Regions from separate parts of the Homo sapiens genome. Here region 1 is linked to region 2. The links are contacts of gene promoters, found by promoter capture Hi-C in human tissues and cell types (Jung and others, 2019). All regions are on one chromosome and are shown on one strand. Each heading gives the region's core, a stretch centred on a gene start or on the middle of the fragment in contact. The rest is flanking DNA. Distances are from core to core; before and after follow the strand shown. Region 1 overlaps VOPP1 (VOPP1 WW domain binding protein). Region 2 holds the start of ZNF713 (zinc finger protein 713).

Evidence for each region. The method cuts DNA at HindIII sites, captures the fragments that hold promoters and counts their contacts. A contact is called where the count stands out against the background at its distance.
Region 1: a contact is called between a fragment that was not itself captured here and the fragment with the promoter of ZNF713 in region 2, in 1 of the 25 tissues and cell types used here (pancreas).

The regions. Positions count from the first base shown.
Region 1 is chr7:55,555,613-55,561,766 of GRCh38, reverse strand. All of the region lies in intron 1 of VOPP1 (VOPP1 WW domain binding protein), which reads left to right. Among named protein-coding and RNA genes, the nearest start is that of VOPP1, 14 kb to the left of the region's middle. RefSeq lists an enhancer at 5,990-6,154. The HindIII fragment of the contact is 4,785 bases long and covers 1,170-5,954 here.
Region 2 is chr7:55,883,141-55,889,263 of GRCh38, reverse strand. ZNF713 (zinc finger protein 713) reads right to left here and starts at 1,808. Exons shown (of 7, transcript NM_182633.3): 1 at 1,584-1,808. RefSeq lists a silencer at 1,608-1,657 and an enhancer at 1,778-2,117. The HindIII fragment of the contact is 16,372 bases long and covers 1-6,123 here.

The DNA of each region.
Region 1 (6,154 bases), core at 2,313-4,812, 330 kb after region 2:
TTGTTTTTTTTTTTTTTTGGAAGAGGGGAGCAGTCTGTGAATTCTTCTTCTTTTTTTTTTTTTTTTTTTCCAGACAGAGTTTTGCTCTGTCACCCAGGCTGGAGTGCAGTGGCATGATCTTGGCTCACTGCAACCTCCGCCTCCCCCTCTCCTGCCTTGGCCTCCTGAGTAGCTGGACATAAGGTGCCCACCAGCACGCCCACTTAATTTTTGTATTTTTAGTAGAGACGGGGTTTCACCATATTGGCTAGGCTGGTCTTGAACTCCTAACCTTGTGATCTGCCCGCCTTGGCCTCCCAGAGAGCTGGGACTACAGGTATGAGTCACCGTGCCCGGCCTGGTCTGTAAATTCTTTAGACCTTAAGCTCCTAGAGGACCTGTTTGTTCCAGAAGGGTTTGGCACAGTGAGGGGGATGGGCTTGGGAGCTTGGGTGTAGAGGTTAGGCTTTGGAAGGGGAGTGGGGATGTGAGGAAGGAGATGAGGAAGGAGGTCATCAAGAGGGAAGGTGCACATAGAGTTGAAGTTCAGTGGGGAAAGGTTGGTGACCTGGGTGGGATGTCAGGAACTTTGCGTTGAAGTAAGCCACAGAGATAAGCTGGGAAGGACCTGGGCCTCCAGGTCATGGTGAAGGTCGCACAGCGGTTGTGGTGAGGGTCCTGGGAAGCTGTGCATGTGCATCTCAGAGCATCCATGGTCGGGGTGCAGAGTGAGCATTTCGGGCAGTCTTGGATACAGCCAGCTGCCCTGACTGGCCCCCTAAGCAGCATGGAAGCAGGGAGGTAGAAGGGTGGCTGCCAGACTGGGGATTGACGCGGGATGGCAGTGCATCATGAGTGAGAGGATTTTGGGGAATTATTGTTATGATGGCTATGTTAGGGTCATTTCTTGAGTGTGTAAAATTAGAAGATGGTTGATGGATTGGAAAATGAACAAGGCATTTGGTAAAAAAGTAGAGGTTGACATGGGAGTGAGGTGAGGGTATGGGACAGGTGCAGAGAAGGGAGAGTGAGGCTACTGGCCTACTAGAGAAGAACTTGCTGTGACCTCTGTGTTCATTACCTGTTGTTGCTATAACAAGTGACTACAAACTTGGTGGCTTAAACCGATCCAGATTTATTATCTTCCCTCTCTGGAGGTCAGAAGTCCTAAATGGCTCTCAGTGGGCTCAATTCAAGAATGTCAGCAGGACCATGTTTCTTCTGGAGGCTCCAGGGAGGATTCATTTCCTGGCCTGTCCCAGCATCTAGGGACTGCCTGTGTTTCTTGGCTGGTGGTCCCTTCCTCCCCTTCAAAGCCAGCGATTCTGTGTCTTCTAATTTCTCTCATGCTTCTCTCTCTCTGTCACTGTAAAGACCCTTGAGATTACATTGGGCCCACCTGAATTACCCAGCATAATCTCCTCATTGTAAGATCCTTAACTTAATCACGTCTGCAAAGCCCCTTTTGCCACCTAAGGTGACATTCCCAGTTCTGTGGATTAGGACGATGACATCTTTGTGGGCAGGAGGTGGCATTACTTTGCTTGCCACAAGGTTGAAAAAAAATGTTGCTTAAAATGGATATTTTAGTGAAATCACTGTTGTAAAGGTTTTTTTTGTTTTCGTTTGTTGTTTGAGACAGAGCCTCACTCTTTTCCCCAGGCCGGAGTGCAGTGGCATGATCTTGGCTCACTACAACCTCTGCCTCCCAGGTTCAAGTGATTCTCCCGCCTCAGCCTCCCAAGTAGCGGGGACTACAGGCGTGCGCCACCATCCCCAGCTAATTTTTGTATTTTTAGTGGAGATGGGGTTTCACCATGTTGGCCAGGCTGGTCTGGAACTCCTGACCTCAGGTGATCGCCTGCCACGGCCTCGTGCGGTGCTGGGATTACAGGCATGAGACACTGCGCCTGGCCAGTAAAGGTTTTTATACTCCATTGCCACGTTCTGAGGTTCTTCTGTGGGGCTGACATGGGCAGTGGAGTGAATGAGAACTTGCCGGTTCCACTGCATGTGCCCTGGGTTGGGATGGAGTCATTAACATAGGTTGTAGGTCTGTTTTATGCTTTGAGTTCTTGGTGGAATGACTCAGGAAAAATATGTATTGGTTTTATTAATAGCTAGTCACCCCAGTGGAAGCTGAGATTCATCTCTGACTTTCTGAATTGCATGAGAAGTTAAATCGCAGATAGGGAGAAGGCTTTCTCTCATAATGAGAGCCTTGGACAAATTGAGATCACAGGTTACTTGATACAATTGATGCTTTTATCACTTCCTGGCAGAAAAGGAGCTGGACTTCAAAATCACGACATCTGGGCCCTGGTCAGCTGAGCCAGGCATTAGAGTCCTTCCACTGTGGTGGCCTGTTGGTCGGCCCAATGGCACGGTCAGCGGCTGCTCTCAGGGGCTTGCTAATGGGCAGTGCTCACCTTCCTCCATAAGATGGGAAGGGTAGGCATCCTAATTAGGAGTCTCTGGTCCCTTTCTGAGTGTCAGCATGACCTAGTGATGTATTCAGAGAAGCTGCCAAGAGTGGAAGTGGATTTATTTAGTGATGATTGTCACCACTAGAATCAGTACCTTTTTAAACTCCACCCTGTTTATCTGAATTCAGTTGTGTGTATGGTTCTTGTTTTGATGGATGGCTCAGGCTCCCATTGAAGCCATCAGAGGCTCCCTCTGATGATGAGGGAGCAGACTAAAAAACCGTTACTATCCACTGGATACTTAGTGACTTATATATAGCTCAAGTTGTTTGCAAAGCTTTGGGCACAAATAAAATTAATATAATTAGGTCTTCAGAAGGAAATGCAGGATGGTATTAAACTTTTCAGTGAGGCTATCTTGTCGCTAACCTTGAACACTGACCTTTCCTTTGCTTTCTTCTTTGGTTTTTAGCAACTCTGCGTTATTATTGCTGAAGAGGGCTCAGAACACTAAAATAGCTCTTTGTCAGTCAGCTTTACTAATGATAATGATGCCAGGGTTTGGTGTTCACCCTGTAGCCATGCTGTGTTTGAGGCTGTATGTAGTCTGAAGTTTTTACTCTGTCTTTTGGGTCTTTGTCTGCAAGGAGCCTGGGGTTGGACATGGATGGATGGGTGGGTGGATCTGGGAAGTGAAGAGACTTTACAGCACCTGACACAGCACAGTAGCCTCTGGACAGGGATGCCTGGGCTCTCTGGAGGCTGAGCAGAGATGATTGGAATTGGCATTAGCAGGGTGTCTCTGGGGTGGCAGGGTCCTCTCCCCGATTAAAGCATCATCTGTCACCCCTGCAGGTGTGCACACCTGAACAGGTTAGCAGGTGAGAAACACATTATTTGTATGAGTTTTCATTTAGTTGTCTGATGGAAGTTTAAGGAACATATTAAAAATATGAAGGATATTCTTTTTCTTAAAATTCATTCTTTTGTATTTAATTTTTTTTGACATACAACAAGCTGAACATAATTAATGTATACAGCTTGATGAGTTTGGAGATAAGCATGCACCTATGAAACCACCTCCACAATTTATGCCATAAGCCTCTAAAAGTTTCCTCCTGCTGTCTGGTTATTATTATTATTATTATTGTGTGTCATAAGGTCTACCCCTTAGCAGATTTCTAAGTACACAGTAGAGTAGTGTTAACTGCAGGACCTCTGTGGCACAGCAGCCCTCTAGGACTCACTGATTTGCATAACTGAAACTTTGTACTTTTTGACAAATACCTAATTTCCCCTCCTCCCAACCCCACGCAACGCCATTCCACCCTCTGTTGAAGGGTTTTCTTGTCTGTCTGTACTTGCAATGCCCCACAGAGTACTTACTAAACCGCATATTGATTAGAACGTCTTTGGCCCTCAGTGATAGGAAACCCAATTCAAGTAGTGCAGACTTGGAGGAAGTTCATTATCTGGCATGGTTAGGAGTCCTCCTGTTGGAGGCCCCGGGCCTGAGTTGTTCAGAGGCTCTACACACCCTCTCATTTGCTCCACCTTCCATTCTGCCATTCTCTGCGGACGGTCCTGCCCTTGTGGTTGTGTGTAGGTTGCAGCAGCTCCTTACAAAATGCAAATCAGTCAGCATCCAGCATGTCTTTCTTATGTATGTGTTTTGTTCTGTTGTGGCTGGGCAGAGTTACTTGGCCCCTTCCTTTTCCCATCCCCACAATATTCCAGTATTTTCTAATGGGGCACTCATTTTGGGTGGGGTTGGTGTTAGATGGGTCCTGAAGAATCGGAATTTTCAGATTGGAAGTCAAGCCAACGATTGAAATATAAACAGACATAAGAGCCTTCTTGCTAGCATATGGGGTTTTTTTAAGTCCTTTTTTTTTTTTTGAAACATCTTATGTTTGAGTATTTTTTTAAAACTTTCCAACCTTATTTTATTTCTCCAGATGATGGTGGCAATGTGATAACCAGCACTTAGCAGGTGCTTGTTGTGTGGCAGCATTGTTTTAAGTAAGCACATGGTGTTTCATCTGTGCAGCCTTCCCACCCCTGCCCCAGGCTCCGTGCTGCCCTCCTGTCCATTTTGCAGATGAGTGGACTGTGGCTCAGGAGACTGGGGCTTTCTCAAGATTTTCTGCAGTCGGACCTAGCATTCAAACCTCAGCAGATTGACTTGCCAACCTAAAATAATGAAAGGGGTCAGAATATGATTTAAAGAGCATTTAAATAAGTACAAAGTGTGAGGTAGGCCACCCAGAAACACCAACTCCGAAGAAATGGAGTCAGTTTTCCGAAGTAGGAAGTGAAGGCTTCATTTATGTGGGCTGAGACAGTGGAGTTTTTAGCAGGATTACAACATTATTCATACAAGGTTGGTGTGTATGTTATAGCAATTTGATTGGCTCTAGGTGATGTTTCTTTTTGGGGAGGGGATATTTAACATTTTCTTAACAGAGGGTGTAATAGTCCTGGGTTTTCTTTCACCTGGTCTAAGCGAAGCAGGGCAATGAAGGGGGAGTTAATCTACAACAAGGGTCATTAATTCAGAGGGCGGGAGGCTTTTGACCCTGACATGGTTTCCCTTTAGTCAATGTACAGAGCAAGAAAAAGAAGAAAATGAGTTATCTATAATCTGAGAAACATAAATTGTAACCATATGTGACTCAGATCACAGTCACATTTCTCTCAAAGCTTGAAGTGTTTTGGGGGGGGGTTCCAACAGCTTTTAGGTTTATTTGTTTTCACAGACTTCAGAGTATGTTCTTAAAGCCCCAATGTGTGAAGTTTATATAATCATAGCATTTTTCTCTTTGAGGTTCCATCATGGCCTGTCGTGGAGGGAGTTCCTGTTGCTGGTTCACGTTATGCATTTTGGTTATTAAGAGACTGAGAAACTCCATCATGTTATCCTAAGTAATGTGTCTTTATTATAAATAGAATGTGGAAATTTGGAAGATGAGAATTTTGGCTCATGGAATCCAGAAGTGGATGAACAGGTTTGCGAACTGGAGGATGGCTTAGAAAGGAACTGGCAAGGCTCACTGTGGCCTTGAGACCTGGTGGAATGAGTCAGGGTCATTGTCCTGCTGGGCTGAACCCCTGTCTCTCCCACCTCCTCCTGCCTTGCTAGGTAGCCTGCACTCACCCAGTCCTTTGTGGCAGGCTGGGCTCAGAAGGTCTCAGAGGAAGCTCAGCAGGTGGCTGGGAGAGAGCAGAGGCTGCCCTTAGGGACACTAGGTGAGTGCAGCAGCTTTCTGTTTCATACATTGAGTGCTTGGGGCCCCTCATAGGTAAGCAGCAGAGGGGCTTCCAGCACATACCCATGTTCTCATTATCATATACAGGTTATTAGAGAGGCGAAATCTACGGGGAAACATCTTAGAACACATGGAAAAGAAAACAAGTGAGTTTTGCTGATGGCTATTGGGGTTATTCATTCGTTTATATTTATTTGCTTTGTGCTGTGTTCATCAGCAGAGCTCACTGAAGGGAGTCCAGCATAAGCAGTCTCTATGATACTGCAGTCCCCGAAAGGTTTTTGTAAGCAGGAACTATGTGAGCAAAATTTAGTTTATTGTTTCAAAATTCTCATAAAGAATTATGTTCCCAGCAGAGCCTCCTGCTGTGTCAGTGGTAATTGATGACTACTACCGTTTTCAATAATAATGAGGTATGCACTAGCGAAATGAAGAGGAGCCCATGCCTGAGGAGCTCTTGATACTTAGGAAAAGGAGAAG
Region 2 (6,123 bases), core at 559-3,058:
CAGGTGTGGTGGCATGTGCCTGTAATCCCAGCTAATCGGGAAGCTGAGACAGGAGAATCATTTGAACCCAGGAGGCAGAGGTTGCGGTGAGCGGAGATCACACCATTGCACTCCAGCCTGGGCAACAGGAGCGAAACTCCATCTCAAAAAAAAAAAAAAATCATTATATGAAAGGACACAATTAAGGGGGATTTGCTTAAAACATTTATTTTATTTTTTGAGACAAGGTCTGATTCTGTCGCCCAGGCTGGAGTGCAGTGACTGGCTCACTGCAACCTTCATCTCCTGGGCCAAAGCCATCTTCCCACCTCAGCCTCCTGAGTGGCTGGGGACTACAGGCACACACCACCAAGTCCGGTTAATTTTTCTAGTTTTTTTTGTAGCAACAGGGTCTTGCCATGTTTCCCAGGCTGGTCTCGAACTCATGAGCTCAAGTGATCCTCCTGCCTCTGCCTCCCAAAGTGCTGCGATTACAGGACCGCAACCGGCCTAAACATTTTAAATGAAAAAAATCTATGTATGTATGTACGTATATGTATTCAGTGCAGAAACTGTCAGGGCAGTGACAGAATCTAGAAACAGCTGGCCGAACGCCGTGGCTCATGCCTGTAATCCCAGCACTTTGAGAGGCCAAGGCGGGAGGATCACTTGCGCTCAGAGACCAGCCTGGGAAACATGGTGAGACCTGGTCGCTAACAACAACAACAACAACAAAAAGCCGCACGTGGTGGTGCACACCTGTGGTCCCAGCTACTGAGGAGGCTGAGGAAGGAGGAGCTCTTGAGCCCAGGCGTTTGAGGCTGCAGTGTGCCATGATGGTGCCACTGCACTGCAGCCTGGGTGATAAAGTGAGATCCTGTCTCAAAACAAAAACATAAATAAACAGAAACACATCTGAGCATACACACGCCTGCAAAATGTAATAAAAGTGTCACTGCAATTCCGTGGAAAAGTGACTCAACGGATAACAGCAAGGCAATGAGAGAAAAAGGTAATCTCTACCTAACCCCTTACCACAAATATCATACTCAATGAAATACAGATAAAAAGGAGAAAAAGAAAATATTTTAAAAATTCTTTAAACGTATTATAAGAAAATAAAGCCGAACGTTTGCATAATCCTGAGATGAGGAAAAACTTTCCCCCAAAATGACACCTATGGACGCTTGCCCAAAAATAAACTGCAAGTTTTTCTTCAGCCTCAGAGTCATTCCCAGATAGTAGAAGACAATGTGTTTATAATATTGGAACGGGTAAGACCTTCCTATAAAAGACCAAAAATCTGAAAGGGACACGGGGCGGGTGACAGGAATGGGGACAGCGGGGACAGCGGCCGCCCCTCCCGCCACCTGCCGCCTCCCGCCGCCGCCGCCGCCCGCCGCCGCCGCCGCCGCCGCCGCCCGCCGCCCGCCGCCGCCGCCGCCCGCCGCCCGCCGCCCGCCGCCCGCCGCCCGCCGCCCCCCGCCTCCGCCCCCCGCCTCCGCCCCCCGCCTCCGCCCCCCGCCTCCGCCCCCCGCCTCCGCCCCCCGCCTCCGCCCCCCGCCTCCGCCTCCCGCCTCCGCCTCCTCCCGGCGCGCACTCACCTCCGCAGACAAAGGGCGCTTCGGCAGGCTCCGCCCCCTGACGCCGCCGCCGCCGCCGCCGCCGCCGCCGCCGCCGCCGCGGTGGACCCGGGAGGGAGAAGGTGCCGAGGGCCCCGCAGCCTGAGCCAATGACGCCCGGTGACTGGGCTCCTGGGGCCGGTCCAGCCACCGGCGCGCCAGACCTGCTCTGAGGACAGCCTCCCCGCAATGGCGGCGCAAGACGCTGGCCTCAGATCCCCAATACGCATGCGCTGGCGGCGCTCCGAGCCTGCTTCCTTCATCGCAATCCTCATCGCCGGGGCTCCTGACTCCCACCAGCTTTCCCGGGTCTGTTTTTCATCGGGACTATGCGGACCCCGGGGACCGCGGCCTCGAGCCTTCCCAGAATTTTCCGGTCCTAGAGGAACGAGGGGGACGGGCCGAGGACCCGTCCCTTCGTCCCTGCCAATTAGAAGCGTTGGACTGTCCATCTCCATGGTGACGACACAAGCCTTCCTTTCAGTCCTGGAATCACCCCTCCTTCCCATCAATTTCATATTGATGAAACTCAAAATATAATGATGATGATGTTATTGGCCGGGCGCGGTGGCTCACGCGTGTAATCCCAGCACTTTGGGAGCTTGAGGCTGGTGGATCACCTGAGGTCAGGAGTTCGAGACCAGCCTGGCCAATATGGTGAAACCCCCGTCTCTAATAAACGTACAAATATTAGCTGGGCGTGGTGACGGGCGCCTGTAATCCCAGCTATTCCGGAGGCTGAGGCAGGAGAATCGCTTAAATTCGGGACGGGGAGGTTGCAGTGAGCAGAGATCACATCATTGCACTCCAGCCTGGGCAGCAGAGTAAGACTCCATCTCAAAAAAAAATACAATAATGATATCATTATATCATTATATAGTATATGCTACTGATGCGAAGAATGGAATTTTATTTTATTTATTTATTTATTTATTTTTTGAGACGGAGTCTTGCTCTGTGGCCCAGGCTGGAGTGCAGTGGTGAGATCTCCGCTTACTGCAAGCTCCGCCTCCCGGGTTCATGCCATTCTCCTGCCTCAGCCTCCCAAGTAGCTGGGACTACAGGCGGCCACCACCACGCCCAGCTAATTTTTTTTTTATTTTTATTTTTAGTAGAGATGGGGTTTCACCGTGTTAGCCAGGATGGTCTTGATCTCCTGACCTCGTGATCCCCCTGCCTCGGCCTCCCAAAGTGCTGGGTTTACAGGCTTCAGCCATCGCGCCTGGCCAAAGAATGGAATTTTTTTAGGCGTAACATTTTGCTTAATTGGAGTTCGGAGTTAGTTAGTTTTTTTTGTTTTATTTTGTTTTGTTTTTCAGACAGGGCCTTGTTCTGTCACCCAGGCTGGAGGGCAATGGTGCCATCATGGCTCAGTGCAGCTTCAAACTCCTGGGCTCAAGCATCCTCCCGCCTCAGCCTCCCCAGTAGCCAGGATTACAGCAGCCCTGAGCCACTGCGCCCTGCTAATTTTTAAAACTTTTTTGTAGAGATGGGGATCTCACTATGTTGTCCAGGCTGGTCTTGAACTCCTGGGCTCAAGGGATTCTTACTCCTCAGGCCCCCCAAGGTGCTGGGATTACAGGCATCAGCACTGTGCTAGGCCCCAGAGTTAGTGTTCTTCAGCATCAAAATTGTGTACATCTGTTTCTACCGGTTATAATGAGATTTTACATATTTCATCTTTGAAAATGTTTTTAAGATAGATACGTACTGCCAAACACTGATACCGTCCATGAACATATGATTTAACTTGAGCATATTCATTGCTTGGAAGAATAGAGTTCTGTTATATTCTCTTGAAATTTGCATTTTAGCATGTCATTATATGGCAGATTAATCACTTCCAATTGAAGGTTAGGTGAGAACTCCTCAACTGCACAGTTACAGGGATATTGAAATATAGAAATGTGCTTTGCATTTGCATAGAGGTCCAAAAATGCTACCAGAACTACCAGAACTATAGATTGAGCTTGGAAAATATAGCCACTGCAAATTTCTGCAAACCAACTAAGATAAGGTTATATAAGGTTGATGTAAAAGCAACTGTAGTTTTTGGCATTAAAAGTAATGGCAAAAACCACAATTACTTTTGTACCAACCTAATACTAAATTAGGGTTTTCTTAACTTCTTTAAAAATATTCTTGCCTGACCAGGTGTGGTGACCCACACCTGTAATCCTAGCACTTTGGGAGGCTAAGGTGGGCAAATTGCTTGAGCTCAGGAGTTCAAGACCAGCCTGGCCAACATGGTGAAACCTCATCTCTACTAAAAATACAAAAATTACCTTGGCATGGTGGTGGGTGCCTGTAATCCCAGCTACTCAGGAGGCTGCTGAGGCACAAGAGTTGCTTGAACCCAGGAGGCAGATGTCGCAGTGAGCCGAGATTGCGCTACTGCACTCTAGCCTGGGCAACAAGAGAAAACTCCATCTTCAAAAAAGTCACACACACACACACACACACACACATGCACACACACACATACCCAAATTGACATGATACTTTTTAATGAAAGACAAAATGAATTATATTTTAACTTCCATGGGATTTTGCTCACTCAAGTAACTTGAAGTTCATTGCTCTTATTCCTTGCCAAAGATCCACCAGGATAAGTGAGATGGAGGGGGAGACTCATTGTGGGATACGTTGGAAGGCGGTTCTTGGCTCCCCTTGTACCTCATCTTAGGACTCATGTGGTGTGTGACCAGAAACTGTTCAGTCTCCCAGAAAAAAATGACAGTTTTTTTTTGAGACAGGCTCTCCCTCTGTCGCCCAGGCTGAAGTGCAGTGGTGTCATCATAGCTCACTGCCGCCTTGACTTCCTTGGCTCAAACAATCCTCCCTCCTCATTTTCCTGAGTAGCTGGAGGCATGCACCACACCTGGTTAATTTTTAAATTTTTTGTAGAGATGGAGCCTTGCTATGTTGCCCAGGCTGGTCTCAAACTCCTAGCCTCAAATGATCCTCCTGCCTTGGGCTCTTAAAGTGCTGGGATTATAGGAGTAAGCCACCGTGCCCGGCCCCTTAGCTTCTCTTTCGATGAGCTGCTGCTCATTGCTAGGGAGGAGGGTGGAGAAGGAGGGCATCACTATCTATTGTGAGGAAAAGTTTTAGTTCTGGCAACCATGAATATCTTACTCAGCAAAACAGACTACCATCTGGAAATTTAGTTCCTAGACTGACTTTGTGAATACAGCCCAATCCAGTTGCCTGAGCTTAGTGGGACATGACTCAGGCCAGAATTTGGGTTTTGGAGGTGAGACAGGCTAAAGTGGCCTGAAGAGCCCTGCCTGGGCCAGAACCTGGGTTGGAGGACACAGGATGCAAAGACAACCTTTGTGGGTTTGGAGAGGCCAAGGCTGAGGAAGTGCCCAGAGCCCACTCTGTATGCGTGTGTGTGAGTGTGTTGGGGCATCTGCCCTCAGCAGGGTGGGTGTGTTTGTGTGTGTCAGTAGTGGTCTGTGTGTGACAAACATCTGCTCTCCGTGTGTGTATCTGTCTGTATTTGGGGGATGGTTAGTGTGATCGTGTAGTGTATTGAGGCAACCCATGCCCACAGTGATGTGTGATTTGTCTGTTTTCGTGTGCACGTCGGGTGGTGTGAGTCGCTGTGTGGTATCTGTCCTCTGTGGTAAGTGTGTGCATGTGCACATGCATGTGTTTGTGTGTGGCGGGGTGGAATGTGTGACTGATGGTGTGTATGGTCTGTGTGGAGAGGAGCATGTGCACTAAGCGTGTGAGTGTGTGGGGGGGTGTATGGTTGTGTGGTGCATTGGGGGAATGTGCATCATCAGTGGTGTGCTGTTTGTATTTATGTATCAGTCAATGTGTGTGTGTGGTGTGTAAAGGGTGACCATTCTCTCGTGGGCCCCTGCCTTTTCCACATCGTGCAGCATACACACACCGAGGTGCAGCTCTGTGGGCCTTGAGGGTGGTGCATCAGCATAAATCAAGTTTCATTGCAGCAGGAAGAAGGAAGACCGGGCTGGGCATGGTGGCTCACACCTGTAATCCCAGCACTTTTGGAGGCCGAGGCGGGCGGATCACCTGAGGTCAGGAGTTGAGACCAGCCTGGCCAACGTGGCGAAACCCCAATTCTACTAAAAATAAAAAAGTAGGGCGTGGTGGCACATGCCTGTAATCCCAGCTACTTGGGAGGCTGAGGTGGGAGAATCGCTTGAACCTGGAAGGCAGAGGGTGCAGTGAGCTGAGATCGCATCATTGCACTCCAGCCTGGGTGTCAGAGTGAGACCCTGTCTCCAAAAAAAGAAGAAAAAAAAAAGAAAGAAGACTAAGTATGAATTAACAGGAGTTAGGAAAGGTTTCCTGGAAAGAAGGACTTCCAATCTATGCCTGTGCTCTATTTGACTGGGATTTCAGCAAGCAAAGGTGAGTGTTCTGTTTGGGGGATAGAGGGAGAGGTAAACTTACCATATAGGACCTTGCAAGTGACCAAAGAGCATAGCAGGTGATCCTGGGAGGGTGAGTGACAGGGGCATCACAAGAGAGCTGAGGTGTCAGA